2 separate regions of the Homo sapiens genome follow, and region 2 is linked to region 1. Evidence: promoter capture Hi-C in 16 types of primary human blood cells and fetal thymus (Javierre and others, 2016). All regions are on one chromosome and are shown on one strand. Each heading gives the region's core, a stretch centred on a gene start or on the middle of the fragment in contact. The rest is flanking DNA. Distances are from core to core; before and after follow the strand shown. Region 1 holds the start of CYB5A (cytochrome b5 type A). Region 2 has its middle 50 kb from the start of TIMM21.

Region 1 (7,469 bases), core at 3,653-6,152:
AAGATGTGGTTTTACTACCACTTTACCCAAGATGCCTAAGCCACCAACACTACCAACAATAACTTTATATTTCCCTTCTACAGACTCTGTAATTTCTAAGTTTTATTTACCTAACGGTATATATTAAATAATAATAATGTTCCCATTTTACATGCATCAAAGGCATATTTGCCAACTGCAGCCTTTAGTAGCATGAGATTCAGAATACTATCAAATTTTCTTGCAAAAAGCAAAGGCATTTAGTATTTTAGCCCTAAATATGGTAGCTTTAACAAGGGTAAAGATACGTGTTCTATGTTTTTCAAAATTAAGGGCAATGAATTTCAGCACCCATACTCTCTTCCTCGATTCCCAAGCCTTAGAACCACTGGTCTACGCAACATAGGCAGCCATGTTCAATGGAAAATAACAAAGAGCAAGTCCCTACAATAAAACCTGCTAGAAAGGACACTTTTAAGACTCCAAAAATCAAAGTGAGTCAGGAGCCAATAGCTTCTATGAGGCAGAATGCTGTAAAGAACATTTAAGGCTCAGGTCCAAGACTATCAGAATCCCAGGAACACTAGAAAATGTTCTACAGAAGCAAGTTTCCATTTTTATGATGTAAAGGGAGAGGAGACAACTTCACAAAAAGACATTCTGCTTTATAAAATTTTCCAGGACAGTATCTATTTCACGAATCAAACACCCACTGACTTGAACCAAAAGCAACAGCTAATGGAAGTGTTGTTAATTACAGGATACCTTTCTCTCTCCCCTCCACAGCTCTTTTAAAAACTGAATAGATGCTGCTGCCCAAATCACAGAAAGGGAAATGCAAACATTTCTCCCCCTGGTCCTAAATGCCTAAGTTTTCATTTCAAATAACTGTCCCTTAAAGTTCTATGATCAAGCAAAGACTCAATTTCACAAATATAAACTCAAAAACTAGAACTCAGGATTGAAAAAAAAATCTAGTTCAAAATATGTAGGCAATAAAGCTCAAAATCTTTTAAGTATCAGACAGTAACTAAGCACCTGCTGCTATGTCGACTGCCATTAATAATAAGCCAGTCTTCCCTCTTAGGTTTCTACCCCTCCGCCTAAACAACAAAAACAGCTTTAGTGGCCATTATTTCAGGAGGTCGGAGCACATGCTGCACCTGTGAGCTTCAACCTGTGTTCTTGGCTTGTACCTGCCAGCAGAGCAGGATCCCTCCACCATCTCACCACACACCTTCTCAACATGAACACGGACATGCACATAAATCTAGGACATTCTGAAAGAAGGGGAAATACTCAGCCATGAGAAATCCTGTCCATACGGATGGGGGATCTCACAGTAAACAAAGGTCTAGCCCATAATGACTGAAAGTTCATTTGAGAGTTAGAAGGAGAAGATAAATCTTTCCTATTTAGGTAAATTAGGTGAGATAAAATATTTGTTAGTTAACACACAAAGGCTTCATGAAATTCTGGAGCCTTTCAACAATAGAAGACAGGAAAGAGGATCGGGCAAGCGGGGAAGAGAGACAGAGACATTCTGCACTCATTTCTGTTTTAAAAGTACGTTTCAGACAAACAGACTAGCCTCATAACAAACTACCTGGCAGGGCAGTGTGCTGAAGAGCTCTGAGCGAGTGAGCTTATTGGAGATATAACCCCAGGAGCACAGGAAGTCACCTGCAAGGAATCCTGGCTAGAGTCTCAGATAGAACCCAGAGAGAGGCTCCCAGAGGCTTTGCCGGGGGCTGGGAAGCCAATGACCAGGACATGCAATAAGCAAGAGATGGTCACAGAAAGTCAAAGCAAATAATAAAGACGGCAAATGGAAAAACACGTCCATAAGAGGTCGAATCGGGAGGTGCCCAGAGGTCAGACACAATCCAGTGAAAGGCTAAGTGGCCTTGCTTGTTCCCAGAACCACATGTTGGCAGACAGTGGAGGCAGAAACGCATGCAGTTCTCGCAATGCCTGAAGATCCCTCCAACCTCTTAAAGTCAACAGGACCAAAACCAAACTAACTCCTTGTGTTTCTCCCAGACCCCAGCCTCCTCACTCACGCCATCCTCCTAGCCGTTCCAGGGGTCAGCCACCCTCTTGTTCATTTTATTTGAGATGCATTCTCCACAAAAACTTTGAGTAAGAAAAAATAAAGAAATTTGTTTTCAGCTAATTTACCCACTCAAGAGCTTGCTCTCATCTCTCAGTTTTTCTCGGAAAATTTTTTGCACAATCCCTCCTTTCCTGACTCACAGGAATGAAATGTGAAAGTAAATAGTTTTGAGTACATTTTAACAATAATCTTCACTTCCCTATTATCGTCTCTGAAAATCTACCCCTAAAGTCATGCACAGTAACCTTAGTAATTCTCAAGTTGGAGAGATTATGTGCCCTAGGGGACCTCTGGCAATATCTGGAGACATTTTGGGTTGCTATAAATAGGGGAGGTAGGGCTGGGAGCAGTGGCTCACGCCTGTAATCCCAGCACTTTGGGAGGCTAAGGTGGGTGGATCACCTGAGATCAGCAGTTCGAGACCAACTTGGCCAACATGTTGAAACCCTGTCTCTATTAAAAATACAAAAATTAGCTGGGCGTGATGGTGTGCGCCTGTAATCCCAGCTACTTGGGAGGCTGAGGCAGGAGAATTGGTTGAACCCAGGAGGCAGAGGTTGCAGTGAGTCGAGATCACACCATTGCACTCCAGCCTGGGCCACAAGAGCAAAACTCTGTCTCAAAAAAAAAAAAAAAAAAAAATAGGGGAGGTGGTGGTACCGGTCATCTAGTGGGTAGAACTCAGGGAGGTGGCTCAATATCCTACAATGCCCAGGACAGACGCCACAACAAAGATCGGCTGGCCCAAAATGTCAACAGTGCCAGGGTTGAAAAAACTCGCTTTAGGAGAAGACAAGAAAAGAAGAAAATGCTTCATAATATAAAATATCCTAATATTCTCTTATGCTACTTCTTCTATAAGCACAAATAGACAAAGCACACACTGTATCTTAAAATTCCACATTTAGAGTTAATGAGAATTGATGTTATATGACAAGATCTGCAGCCGGGCAGGAGGGAGAGGACAGGTCAGCTCTGATTTCCCAACATAAACCCCTCCTTACTAAATGGTAACATGACTTTATCTTCGGGCACTGCTCCAGAGTGAAATACCTTACCAATAAACATCAACTCCAGCCTTATTATTTAATTTTATTTATTTATTTAGAGACAGAGTCTCACTCTGTCCCCCAGGCTGGAGCAAAGTGGTGCGATTTCGGCTCACTGCAACCTCTGCCTCCCAGGTTTAAGGGATTCTCCTGTCTCAGCCTCCCGAGTAGCTGGGACTACAGGCGTGCCCCGCCAGGCCTGGCTAATTTTGGTATTTTGGTTAGAGATGGGGTTTCGCCATGTTGGTCAAGCTGGTCTCGAACTCCTAGACTCAAGTGATCCACCCGCCTCAGCCTCCCAAAGTGCTGGGATTACATGTGTGAGCCACCGTGCTTGGCCCAGCCTCATTTTTTAAAACAGGCCTTTTGATTTTAACATTTTCTGCAAAAACAAAGTCCTCTGATATAAACTGTGATCCAGCTCAGACCAGGCATCTATTTTTGTCCCCTGCTCCCCGACTATGTAAAAAATTCCCATCACTAAACCTTCTCATTATTGGGAGGGGGCGTGAGCATGCGTTAAGATTTATGATTGAGACTCCCCCAAAAGTAGTAAAACACTTCCAGAGGATCTAAGACAATCACCAAAAGCGCCCCTTAGCGTGTGCGGCAAAAATTATAACCGAATGCAAAGAATCTTATCAAAGGAATGTCTTCAAGTTAACCAACGTTTCCTATTACACCTTCCAAAGCTGTTAGGGGCGAGTCCCACGCAGAACGTCCGCTGCTCTGCCTGGCCTCTGTGTTCTTGCTCCAGCCACACACCGCGGTCTCAGGAGTCAAGCACGGCACCTGGCTGCCAAGGCGTGACTGGAAAAGGTTAATTAACACCGAGCCTCTTCCAGGTGAACGCGAACGCGAGTGGGTGTGGACCGCAAGGTCGGCCAGTGGCTGCCGCGGGAAGCGCAGGCCCGGACCACACCCGACCTCCGCACTTGGGGTCCCCTCCGGCGGGATCCGCAGCTCTCGGGGTGGGTGGTCTCCAGCCGGCCACTGCGGGAATGCCGCCGGTCCTGGAAGGACACCCTTCTATTCAAACTCAAGGGAGAAAGGGATCATTTAAATCCCCCGCATGGCTGCGCGCTATCCCCGGAAGGCTGCTCCAGCACCACCTAGCGAGGATGCCGCCGCGCAGGGCGCTCCCAGGTGTGCACGCGCAGGTGTACGGATTCGGGGAGCGCTCCCAGGTGTACACGCGCAGGTGTGCGGACTCAGGGAGCGCTCCCCAGGTGTGCACGCGCAGGTGTGCGGACTCGAGGAGAGCGCCCAGGTGTACACTAGCAGGTGTGCGGACTCGGGGAGCGCTCCCAGGTGTGAGCGCGCAGGTGTGCGGACTTGGGGCGGTGGGGGGCGCCCAGGCTTGCACGCGCAGGTGTGCGGACTCGGAAGCGCGCCCAGGCGTACACGCGCAGGTGAGCGAACTCGGGGGGCGCGCCTAGGCGTAGGTATGCGGACTCCGGGCCGCGAAAGACAGGTCATGCCAGTGAACCCCCAAACCCGGCCCACGCTCCCTGCGCCCCAAGCCGCTCATCCCCAACTCACCTCTTCCAGAAATTTGGTCAAATCGTACACCTTGTGGTGCAGGATCAGCCAGGTGCTCTTGCTGTGGTTGTGCTTCTGAATCTCCTCTAGGGTGTAGTACTTCACGGCCTCGTCCGACTGCTCTGCCATCTCGGTTCGCCGCGAGCCAGGCCCAGCACACACAGCCCCGTCGGGTGGAGCAGAGCGCGCGACTCAGCCAGCTCCACCCGGGACATTCCCCGCGCCGGGAACCCCACTGGGGGCTGGGCGGCCGGCTCAGGGGCGGGGCGCAGTAGAAGGGCCTCCGACGGTTGGCCATCATCCTTGTCACTCAAAAGTCCCCGCCTTCGGTCGACCCCCTCCGCCTGCCCAAGCGTGGTCCCGCCCAGTATGCGGGTGTTAATTGGCTGCCGGAGGTGCCCTTCACAATCTCCCGGCTGCCGCAGCGCGCGGAGAGCGTGACAGGACTCCACGGAGTCTGCGCGGAAGGGCGGGACTAACTGTGGCGAGGGCTGAGGTGGGAGGTCGGGGGCGTCCCCGCGGGTTAAGCGTGCGAGAGAGCGAGGTGCACCAGCGGGCATGGATGGCCTGTGCAGAGTCCAGTCTTGTGAGGGCGGCGAACTAGGCAGCGAATCGCGGGAGTTTCCTATTGGCAGCAGTCCGAGTCCCAGACGTTAATTTGTAACAAAAGTAGCGATGGCCAAGCCCATAAAGGGGGCATCTCGGAAAGCCGTTCGCATGCACGGAAGAGATGAAAGCCCCGTGCGCGCTAGAAAACGGTTTCGCAACTCACTTCGGGAAGCAAATGCGCTGCCCCCCAAAACATAAAGTTGGCGAACTGTGCCTGACCCCGCTGGGGTTTTGGAATGCCTCGTCCTCACAGGAAAAAAATCCAGGGAAATCATCTTTTCCTTAAAAAGCAAAAGTGTCCAAATTATTTCTGTGACTGAAGTAGTTTGTCTGCGGTTGGCCAGTGACATGGCAAGGCCTTGTTTGTGCATTTAAGGTAAATCAGATTCTCTTCTAGGAGTCTGGAAGAGAACTTCCCCAAAGGGCACCCTCTTTCCCTTCTGACACAGAGGAAATACCACATATAAAGAGCTACAAATGTTTGAAGGAGAAAAAAAATAAAGAAAAATTCCAGCATGTTAAAATTTGATATTTTATGTAGGCCCTTTTCAGCAATGGTAGTTAATTCCAAAAAGAACCACACGAGAGGTTTCACATGTGGGGTCATCCATCCTTCCAGGGATGCAGAAGGTTCCTACACATACTAGGTGTCTGATGAATGTGAGCTCCCTTCCCCCTGCTTACCTCCTCCATAGGAATGCATGCCTATCCAGAAAAACACAAAACACACGCATGTCAGGCCTCTGAGCCCAAGCCTGCACATATACATCCAGATGGCCTGAAGCAACTGAAGAATCACAAAAGAAGTGAAAATGCTGAAGCAACTGAAGAATCACAAAAGAAGTGAAAATGGCCGGTTCCTGCCTTAACTGATAAGACAGTCACCTGTCCTCCTGCTCTTTGCTCTGTGAGAAAGATCCACCTACAACCTCGGGTCCTCAGACCAACCAGCTCCAGGAACATCTCACCAATTTTAAATTGGGTAAGCAGCTTCTTTTTACTCTCTTCTCCAACCTCTCTCACTATCTCTCAACCTCTTTCTCCTTTCAATTTTGGCACCACCCTTCAATCTATCCCTTCCCTTAATTTCAGTTCCTTTCCTTTTCTGATAGAGACAGAGGAGATGTGTTTTATCCGTGAACCCAAAACTCCGGCACTGGTCACGGACTCGAGAAGACAGTCTTCCCTTGGTGTTTAATCACTGCAGGGATGCCTGCCTGATTATTCACCCACATTTCAGAGGTGTCTGATCACCACAGGGACACCTGCCTTGATCCTTCACCTTGGTGTCAAGTACCGACCCCCCCTGTGTCTCTGCCCTCTCTTTTCTCTGGGCTTGCCTCCTTCACTATGGGCAACCTTCCACCCTCCATTCCTCCTTCTTCTCCCTTAGCCTGTGTTCTCAAGAACTTAAAACCTCTTCAACTCTCGCCTGACCTAAAACCTAAACACCTTATTTTCTTCTGCAATACCACCTGACCCCAATACAAACTTGACAGTGGTTCCAAATAGCCAGAAAATGGCACTTTCAATTTCTCCACCCTACAAGATCTAGATAATTCTTGTCGTAAAATGGGCAAATGGTCTGAGGTTCCTGACATCCAGGCATTCTTCTACACATCAGTCCCGCCCTAGTCTCTGCTCCCAATGCGACTCATCCCAAATCTTTCTTCTTTCTCTCCTGTGTGTTCCTTCGGTCTCCACCCCAAGCTCTGAGTACTTTGAATCCTCCTTTTCTGTGGAGCCATCTGACCTCTCCCCTGCTCGCCGGGCTGAGCCAGGTCCCAATTCTTCCGCAGCCTCTGTTCCCCCACTCTATAATCCTTCTATCACTTCCCCTCCTCACACCTAGTCCGGCTTATGGTTTTGTTCCTTGACTAGCCCTACCCCACCTGCCCAACAATTTCCTCTTAAAGAGGTGGCTGGAGCTAAAGGCATAGTCAAGGTTGTTGCTCCTGTTTTCTTTATCCGACCTCTCCCAAAACAGTTAGGCTCTTTTTCATCAAATATAAAACCCCAGCCCAGTTCATGGCCCGTTTGGCAACAACCCTTAAACGCCTTACCGCCCTAGACCCAGAGAGGCCAGAAGGCCGTCTTATTCTCAGTATGCATTTTATTACCCAACCCACTCCTGACGTTAGAAAAAGCTCCAAAAATTGGATTCCAGCCCTCAA
Region 2 (7,469 bases), core at 1,819-4,318, 94 kb before region 1:
GTCTTAAACTCCTGGTATCAAGTAATCCTCCCACTCCGGCTTCCCAAAGTCCTGGGATCACAGATGTGAGCAACAATGCCCGGCCAATGTTGCTCTCTTAACAAGCTCATTTTGGGCAAAGAGGAAACAGTGCCATGCCAGACCACAGTGGAGACTGGGGCAAAGGAAAAACCAGTATCTCTGATCGTGTCTTTACTGCAAGTGTTGACATTTTGTTAATCCTGGATATTCTGCATGGATTTTGATTTTAAAAAATATTTCTTTAAAGTATTATTTATCCAGGCCAGGTGCAGTGGCTCATGCCTGTAATCCCAGCATTTTGGGAGGCCAAAGCAGGTGGATCATTTGAAGTCAGGGGTTCGAGACTAGCCTGGCCAACATGGTGAAATCCTGTCTCTGCTAAGAATACAAAAATTAACCAGGTGGTGGTGTGCGCCTGTCATCCCAGCTACTTGGGAGGCTGAGTCAGGAGAATTGTTTGAGCTCGGGAGACAGGGGTTGCAGTGAGCCAAGATTGCGTCACTGCACTCCAGCCTGGGCAACAGAGCGAGACTCTGTCTCTCTCTCTCTCTCTCTCTCTCTCTCTCTCTCTCTGTATATATATATATATATATATATATATATATATATATATATGTGTGTGTGTGTGTGTGTGTGTGTGTGTGTGTGTGTGTATAATTTATCTTGATGACTGAGTTTTTGTCACTTCCTTTAAATTGGGTGCCCAAAGTGAGTCCTCCTCTTGCCTCCCCGAGTGCCAGAGCCCTGAGAGAAAATAAACCATTGCTGAGGAATCCAGGTATACAACTTTCCCAAATCCAGATTTATATGCTGCTTAGAATAGCAAAATCATTCCACCATACCAAAAATGGGCAATGGAACCAAAAACGTTCATAGTATTCTGAAACATACAGAGTTCTACATCTTGTCTTTGCGTCTTCCATTGATCCAAAGGAGAGAGGAGTAATGAAGATAAAGAAGACAGAACTGATTCTATTCCTTCCTGCCATGCGTTTAACTTTTCAGTACACGGCAGCAAACATGCTCAGAATGGTAGATTAATGCGTTTCATCAAAAGAGGGAGCCCTAACCTTCATTTGCTCATACCTGAGGCTTTGGCTCTTTGTTTGTCTTTGTAAATAGAGGAAGAATGTTAAGTATTCCATATGAAAGAACCAGGTATCGTTGAGTTGATTCTACTGTTTGCCTTTTGTCGTTTTGTTCTGTCTCCAAACCAATTCCCTCTGCTGGGTGGGTGAGAAGGCTTCCTGGTTCTCAGCCATCGTAACAGAAATTCAGGGTCTTCAGAGCCTAAATGACGCCTTACCCCTTCATGGCCACTAGAGGGCAACCGACACCACCATAATGAATTGATCCACCCAGGTTTATGATATTAACTAAGTTGATAATTATTTACACTATAAAGGCATTCTTTTGAGACCATTCTTCCTTTAGAATATCCTTTTAAAGGTATTTGTCTCTTTAAGATATATTTTATATAGCATTTATTTACATTTCGATATCCCCTAGTAAGTCCAATTAAATTTTAAAAAATTTGGACACAGCCTCCATGTATTCAACAAATATTTAAATATTACAGTTTGCATTCCATAAGCCTTTGTGCTAGACAATGAGGCCACAAATTTGAAAAAAGACTCAATCCTTGTCCTCAAGAATAGATGAATGGGAAGCACAAATAACTACAAGTACCAGAGCCAACATTTGCACAGGGACAGGCAGCATGGGTAAGGGAGTAATTCACTCTTTGGGGGAGGGAGAGAATTCAGCTAAACTTGTGTTGTATTTTGCACAAAAGGGATATGGCCAGTATGTAAAGTAACATGCATTTAATGGGAAAAGTGAAGCAATTGATATACTCTTAAAGTGTTTATTACTTGAAATGTTGGAAGTTTGAAATCATTCCCACTCTCTCCCAAAGGGAATATTTTGTTCATCACTGGATTTATCAGAGAAAAAAGCAAAAAGAAAGTGAGTACAAAATCCCCAAGACCTAAGTGCATTAGAAATCTCAAAGGGACTATGAAACATTCCCCTGATGTTTTTCCCCCATAAGAAGCTTAATTTGCTAAAACCCTTTCACTCCTGTAATCCCAGCACTCTGGGAGGCCGAGGTAGGCGGATCATGAGGTCAGGAGATCAAGACCATCCTGGCTAACACGGTGAAACCCTGTCTCTACTAAAAAAAAAAAAAAATACAAAAAGTTAGCCAGGAGCAGTGGCGGGCACCTGTAGTCCCAGCTACTCGGGAGGCTGAGACAGGAGAATGGCATTAACCTGGGAGGCAGAGCTTGCACTGAGCCGAGTTCACACCATTGCACTCCAGCCTGGGTGACAGAGGGAGACTCTGTCTAAAAAAAAAGAAAAAACACTTTAAAAGATATATTTTAATTTGAGAAAGAGTTTTTTAAATGTATTTTCTCCAAAAGCCACATTGTATATAGCCTGGTCCCGGAAATGCTCCTCCCCTCCCACTTGGAGAAGCCAGTAGGGCAGGAAGCTCTCCTGGTGCATGCCTGTGGGCCTCCTGTTTCTGTGAAGTGGGGTATGGCTCCTCTGTTTTGCATAACTGGAGAGCTGAAAGGGACATTAAACAAAGGGCAGAACATGAACCCGGAAATCCCTACCAGGCCAACGATCCAGAGGCTGCTCTCTGTGCCACTTCCCCATGCCCTGGGCATGGAGCTCACCGGAGATTAACCCAGCTTCCCTGAGCCCAGGGGAACCTAGGCTCGGCACCACCACCCCCAGGAGTTTCCCGGGATTGTAAGCCAGTGGCATAAGTCAGCTGGATGCAGAGAATGACCTGTAAACCCTGGGCAACATGCATCCTAGCTTTGCCTGCAGCAGTCAGAGCCAGGGGGCTGAGGAGGCTCGGCCGGGGCGGGGGCAGTGGTTCAGTCCCCCTGGTCCCTGCCCAGGGTTGAGGCAGAGGGAAAGAGAGCAATCAGGTTGTGGGTGGGGGCAAGCCCATGCTCAGCCACTGGGGCCATGCCAGGTGGGGACGTCCAGCTCCCGGACACAGTGCGCTGGGACAATGCCAGAGCCTGCAGGTCAGGCCATGGTGGGGCCTGGCTCCACTGCTCAGGCTTCAGGCAGAAGGGCACGAGGTTGGAACAGGAGCTGTTGATGGGACTCAGAGCTAGAAGAGGATGAGCAGGAAGAGAGGGCAAACAGAGAATGAGGGTATCCCCAAAGGAGGGTCCACTTGGATGACATGGCCAGCTCCAAGAGCCACCTCCAGGTCCTGGTCCTTACATCCAAATCCTAAGTCCTAGGGAGCAGCATGTCCATGCAGATGGGCTGTGCCCTGTGCCCCTCAGTGCTCAGACAACAGAGGTGGCACAGACGCACTGCACCCAGCACAGCTGTGGTGCCCTGAGGCCTCAGGTGTCCGGATGTTGCTCAGGTGCCCTGGTGGCTCAGGGGAGAGCAGACTCAGTCACAGTGGCTGGGCATGGCAGGAAGTGGCTCCTGGGTGTACAACATGGGAGGCCAGCATCATCTGGCCAACAGATCCTGCCAAGATGGGACAGGGTCGGAAATGGAAGACAATAGGGCTTCCATGAAGTACTCAGACTGCCTATGAGATGGCAATAGGCCCCAGGACTTAGCAGCGCTCTGACAGGGAGCTGGAGGTGGGGATAGGATGGACCTGAGGTCCGGGTGCTGGAGGTGGGGACAGGATGGACCTGAGGTCCGGGTGAGGGAGCTGGAGGTGGGGACAGGATGGGCCTGAGGTCTGGGTAAGGGAGCTGGAGGTGGGGACAGGATGGACCTGAGGTCCGGGTGAACTGCTGGAGGGAGGCTTCTCAGGCCACAGTGCAAAGGAGGAAGAAAACGCTTTCAAAGCCCAGGTCAGGGGTGGGGAGGTTACGAGTGATGGCCAGCGGGTTAACAAGCCATGCCAGAAACTACTGGAAAACCCAAGACTGTAGACACTTTCTAAAAGTTCATTTGAAATTATTATACCTTGGGTGATAAGGATAAGAAAAATTGGGAAGTTTGCTACATCAGCAGCCTAGTGGAGGTGAAGAGCTTGAAGCTTGGAGTCCTTATTAACTATGAGACTTTAAATAAGTAACTGAATCTCTTTGTAGCTGTTTTCTCATCTGTGAAACAAGGACACGGACACGTACACTCCTTTCCTCAAAATCCTTTTTCAAGGATAAAAACGAGTTACTGGATACACAGCACTCATAATGGTACCTGGCATATAGCTCAGAGAGTGTTAGCAACTGTTATTATCATCATCTTCTCCCTGGGAAAGAGGAAAACGTCATGCCCGTGATATGTTGGGGGCAATTAATAAATTGGGCCAGGTGCGGTGGCTCACACCTGTAACCCCAGAACTTTGGGAGGCCCAGGAGGGAGGACTGCTTGAGGCCAGGGGTTCAAGACCAGCCTGGGCAACATAGCAAGACCCTATCTCTACAAAAAAATTAAAAATTAGCAACCCTATCTCTACAAAAAAAACTAAAAATTAGCTGGGCCTGGTGTCACAGGCACCTGTAGTCCCAGCTACTCTGGAGGCTGAGACAGGAGGATGGCTTGAGCCCAGGAGTTGAGACTGCAGTGAGCTATGATGGTGCCACTGCACTCCAGCCTCGGTGACAGGGTGAGACCCCATCTCTTGAAAAAAAAAGCGGGGACTTTGCAACAAAGTCATTTGAAAAAAAATAAAACATGTTTCTGTAAAATCATCTTGTCTCCCAACAATCAAGTCTCAGGTTGTGTCCATGGGGTTATGGCTCTCTCACTTCCCAGCCAGACTATGAAGGAGCGAAGCCCCGTCCTTGGGAAGAGGAGACGTGAGCCAGGCAGGATGGGCCCAAGGAGGGAGTCCCTTAGAAACTGTCCAGATGAAGGCTAACGAGGTGCAGCTCCACCCAGCCTCCTCGGGCTCTCCTTCCCACAGGAGCCTCTCATCCTGCGATGGCCACATTCTACCCTGGGTGGTGTGGGGCACTGGTGCTTGTGTGTTCTCCGTTGTGGGCGGGGGGCTGGGAGTGTGGGGCATGGACAGAAGGCACGATTTCTTCATTCACTAAACTCCAATGGATCAGCTTCCTTATTTTCTTCTTATGTGCCTGGTGTGAAGAGTGCTTGATTTAGCCAAAATCCATGGGAAAAAAATAAAAATTAAATGTTTTTCAGTTCATGGGAGAGGAAAACTGTGATGCAGTGTGTGTAAGTTGCTCAGATGACTACCACAAAGAACAGAAAAGGAGGTGGGAAGCCAATCACAAAACCTCGGCTTCCTTAGTTATTTGGGATAAAAATAATTTTGCTGCCAGCTTTCCCGGGAGGGCACCTGAGAAGGACGACTCCGCGGACCCGTTTGACTAAGACATTTCTAACATAAGTCACATAGGGGCCCTTCTTCATGCTCCTCTCCTACTTTGCCAAACATCGCACACAGGAAAATAAAAGACTCTTAGATTTCACAATCTCCTTTTCTTCTTTTATTTCCTCAAACAGCTTCTCTTTCTGTTCAAAGGACATAAAATCTCCCTGTGTGTCCACTGGAATATCTGGGCAGGAGACAGAGCGGCAACGCCACGACTTGTGTCCTGTTTGTTCTGCTTCTGAACGCACACGGGGTCTGAAGCGCCCCTTCTCCTTTTGTGGCCCTGGCTGGACTGTGGTTTGCAGAGTCCGTCTTTCCCCTCAGCCCCCGTGGGAAGCGCCCAGGGCCACGTGGGGAGAGCTGCACTCCCCAGCCAGGATTCCCACTCGGGCATTGCTCTCATGGAGGGAGGATGCATTGGCGCTTCCATTCCAACACTGCGGGTGCTGCCCTAAGCCGCCTGGGAGGGACTTTGACTCACGCTCTGCACGACTAAAGGTGAATGACAGTGGTGCAGGAGGGGTCATGCCAGTGGCCCCAGGTGGGCTGCATAGCCCTGAAGAAGGGACACAGGCTCCGACTCTAACAGAATCGGCTGTGAACCCTGACTCTGCCCTCTTAAAAATGAAGGGCAGTAGAATAGGCCGCCCCAACACATGCCGCTTTGGCGTAAGGATTATTCTGAGCTCAGGGCACTTGAAAACCAGCAGGTGCAAGAAGGAGACCCTGACTTTCCTTTTTCTTCCTGTAAGCAAGAGATGAAACCCTGTGTGAAAGATGCCCCCCCTCCACCAGGAGAAAGGAAGAGATCCTTGTCATCAGAGTCAAAGCCCAGGGTGCTCTACAAACAAACCTTGTGAAGCCAACACTTACCTTCCTGGTCATTTGCCCCCAACTGACTGCCCTACCCAAGCCCCTTTGTCTTGTCATGTTTCCACAATTTATGACACTTTGTTCAACCTAGTGCATAAGTTCGTGGCCCCAACTCCTTCTTTGGGTCTTCGTTTTTCTTGTGAGGGCTCCCATGTCTATACAAAAATTACTTAATAAAATCTGCCTACTTTTCTCCTCTGAAGCTGTCTCTGTCAGTGGATTCACTGGGCTCATCTAGCAACTCTAAAAGGGCTGAGGAGAAATTTTGCATCCCCAACACAAACTAAAACCTGAAAGATGACTTAGCTGCTCTAAATATTGACCTGGTCATCTATAAAATCAAGGTAAGTGTTGGAAGTTTGCTGCATCCCCCCAAAAAGATATGTAAATGTGACCTTATGTGGAAATACAATCATTGCAGATATCATTAATGTGTGAATGAAGATAGATCATACTGGATTTGGATGGGCCCTAAGTCCAGTGCCGGGTGTTCTTATGGGAAGAGGTGGGACACAGAGAGATACACATGCAGAGGCCAGGCGAGGACAGAGGCAGCGATTGGAGTAATGTACCCACATATCAAGGAACAGAGAGGATTGCCAACAACCACCTCTCCAGAGGCTGGAGGAAGCAGGATGGACCCTCCCCTAGAGTCTTCAGAGGGAGAATGGCCCTGAGGACACCTTGATTTTGGACTTCTGGCCTCCAGAGCTGTGGGAGAGTAAATTTCTGTTACTACACCACCTAGTCTATGGTACTTGGTTACAGCATCTCTGGGCAACTAATACAGTGGGCTGGCTGTGAGGATTAAATGAGATTACGTAAGTAAATGCTTGTTCAGTGTTATATATCATCCCCTTTTTTTTTTTCTCTTCCCTAGGAACTAGAAATAGAAATAAACCCAAGAAGGGCTTTGATAATGCTGCTGTCACCTGAGAACTTAAAGGTGAGTCCTGCTGTGCTTTGATCAATCTAACCAAAACGCACAACCAGATTATGCATTCAGAGGCTCAGAGATTTGGAGCTGAGGGGTTTGACCCCACAGATATGAGGGGTATCTGCATGAAGCCTTACAGGAAAGGGTCTCAGTCTGAGCTGGTGACTGGATGCCTCAATGGGCCCCAACCCTGGGCAGGGGGTCCTTGGGACATGGGAGGAGCAGAAGCTGCCAAGTGAATTGTTTTGCTCTGTGATGGCAGAAGGACCTCAGGCCAGTCAGAGCCCAGGA

The links. The method cuts DNA at HindIII sites, captures the fragments that hold promoters and counts their contacts. A CHiCAGO score of 5 or more calls a contact.
Region 2: a contact is called between a fragment that was not itself captured here and the fragment with the promoter of CYB5A in region 1, in 2 of 17 cell types (M2 macrophages and M0 macrophages). The highest score is 5.5, in M2 macrophages.

The regions. Positions count from the first base shown.
Region 1 is chr18:74,287,061-74,294,529 of GRCh38, forward strand. It overlaps CYB5A (cytochrome b5 type A), which reads right to left and starts at 4,903. Exons shown (of 5, transcript NM_148923.4): 1 at 4,687-4,903. The coding sequence starts at 4,815. RefSeq lists enhancers at 3,482-4,089, 4,695-4,864, 4,944-5,113, 5,403-5,462, 5,822-5,991. The HindIII fragment of the contact is 14,442 bases long and covers 1-7,469 here.
Region 2 is chr18:74,195,226-74,202,694 of GRCh38, forward strand. No RefSeq gene overlaps it. Among named protein-coding and RNA genes, the nearest start is that of TIMM21, 50 kb to the left of the region's middle. RefSeq lists an enhancer at 2,376-3,032. The HindIII fragment of the contact is 1,986 bases long and covers 2,076-4,061 here.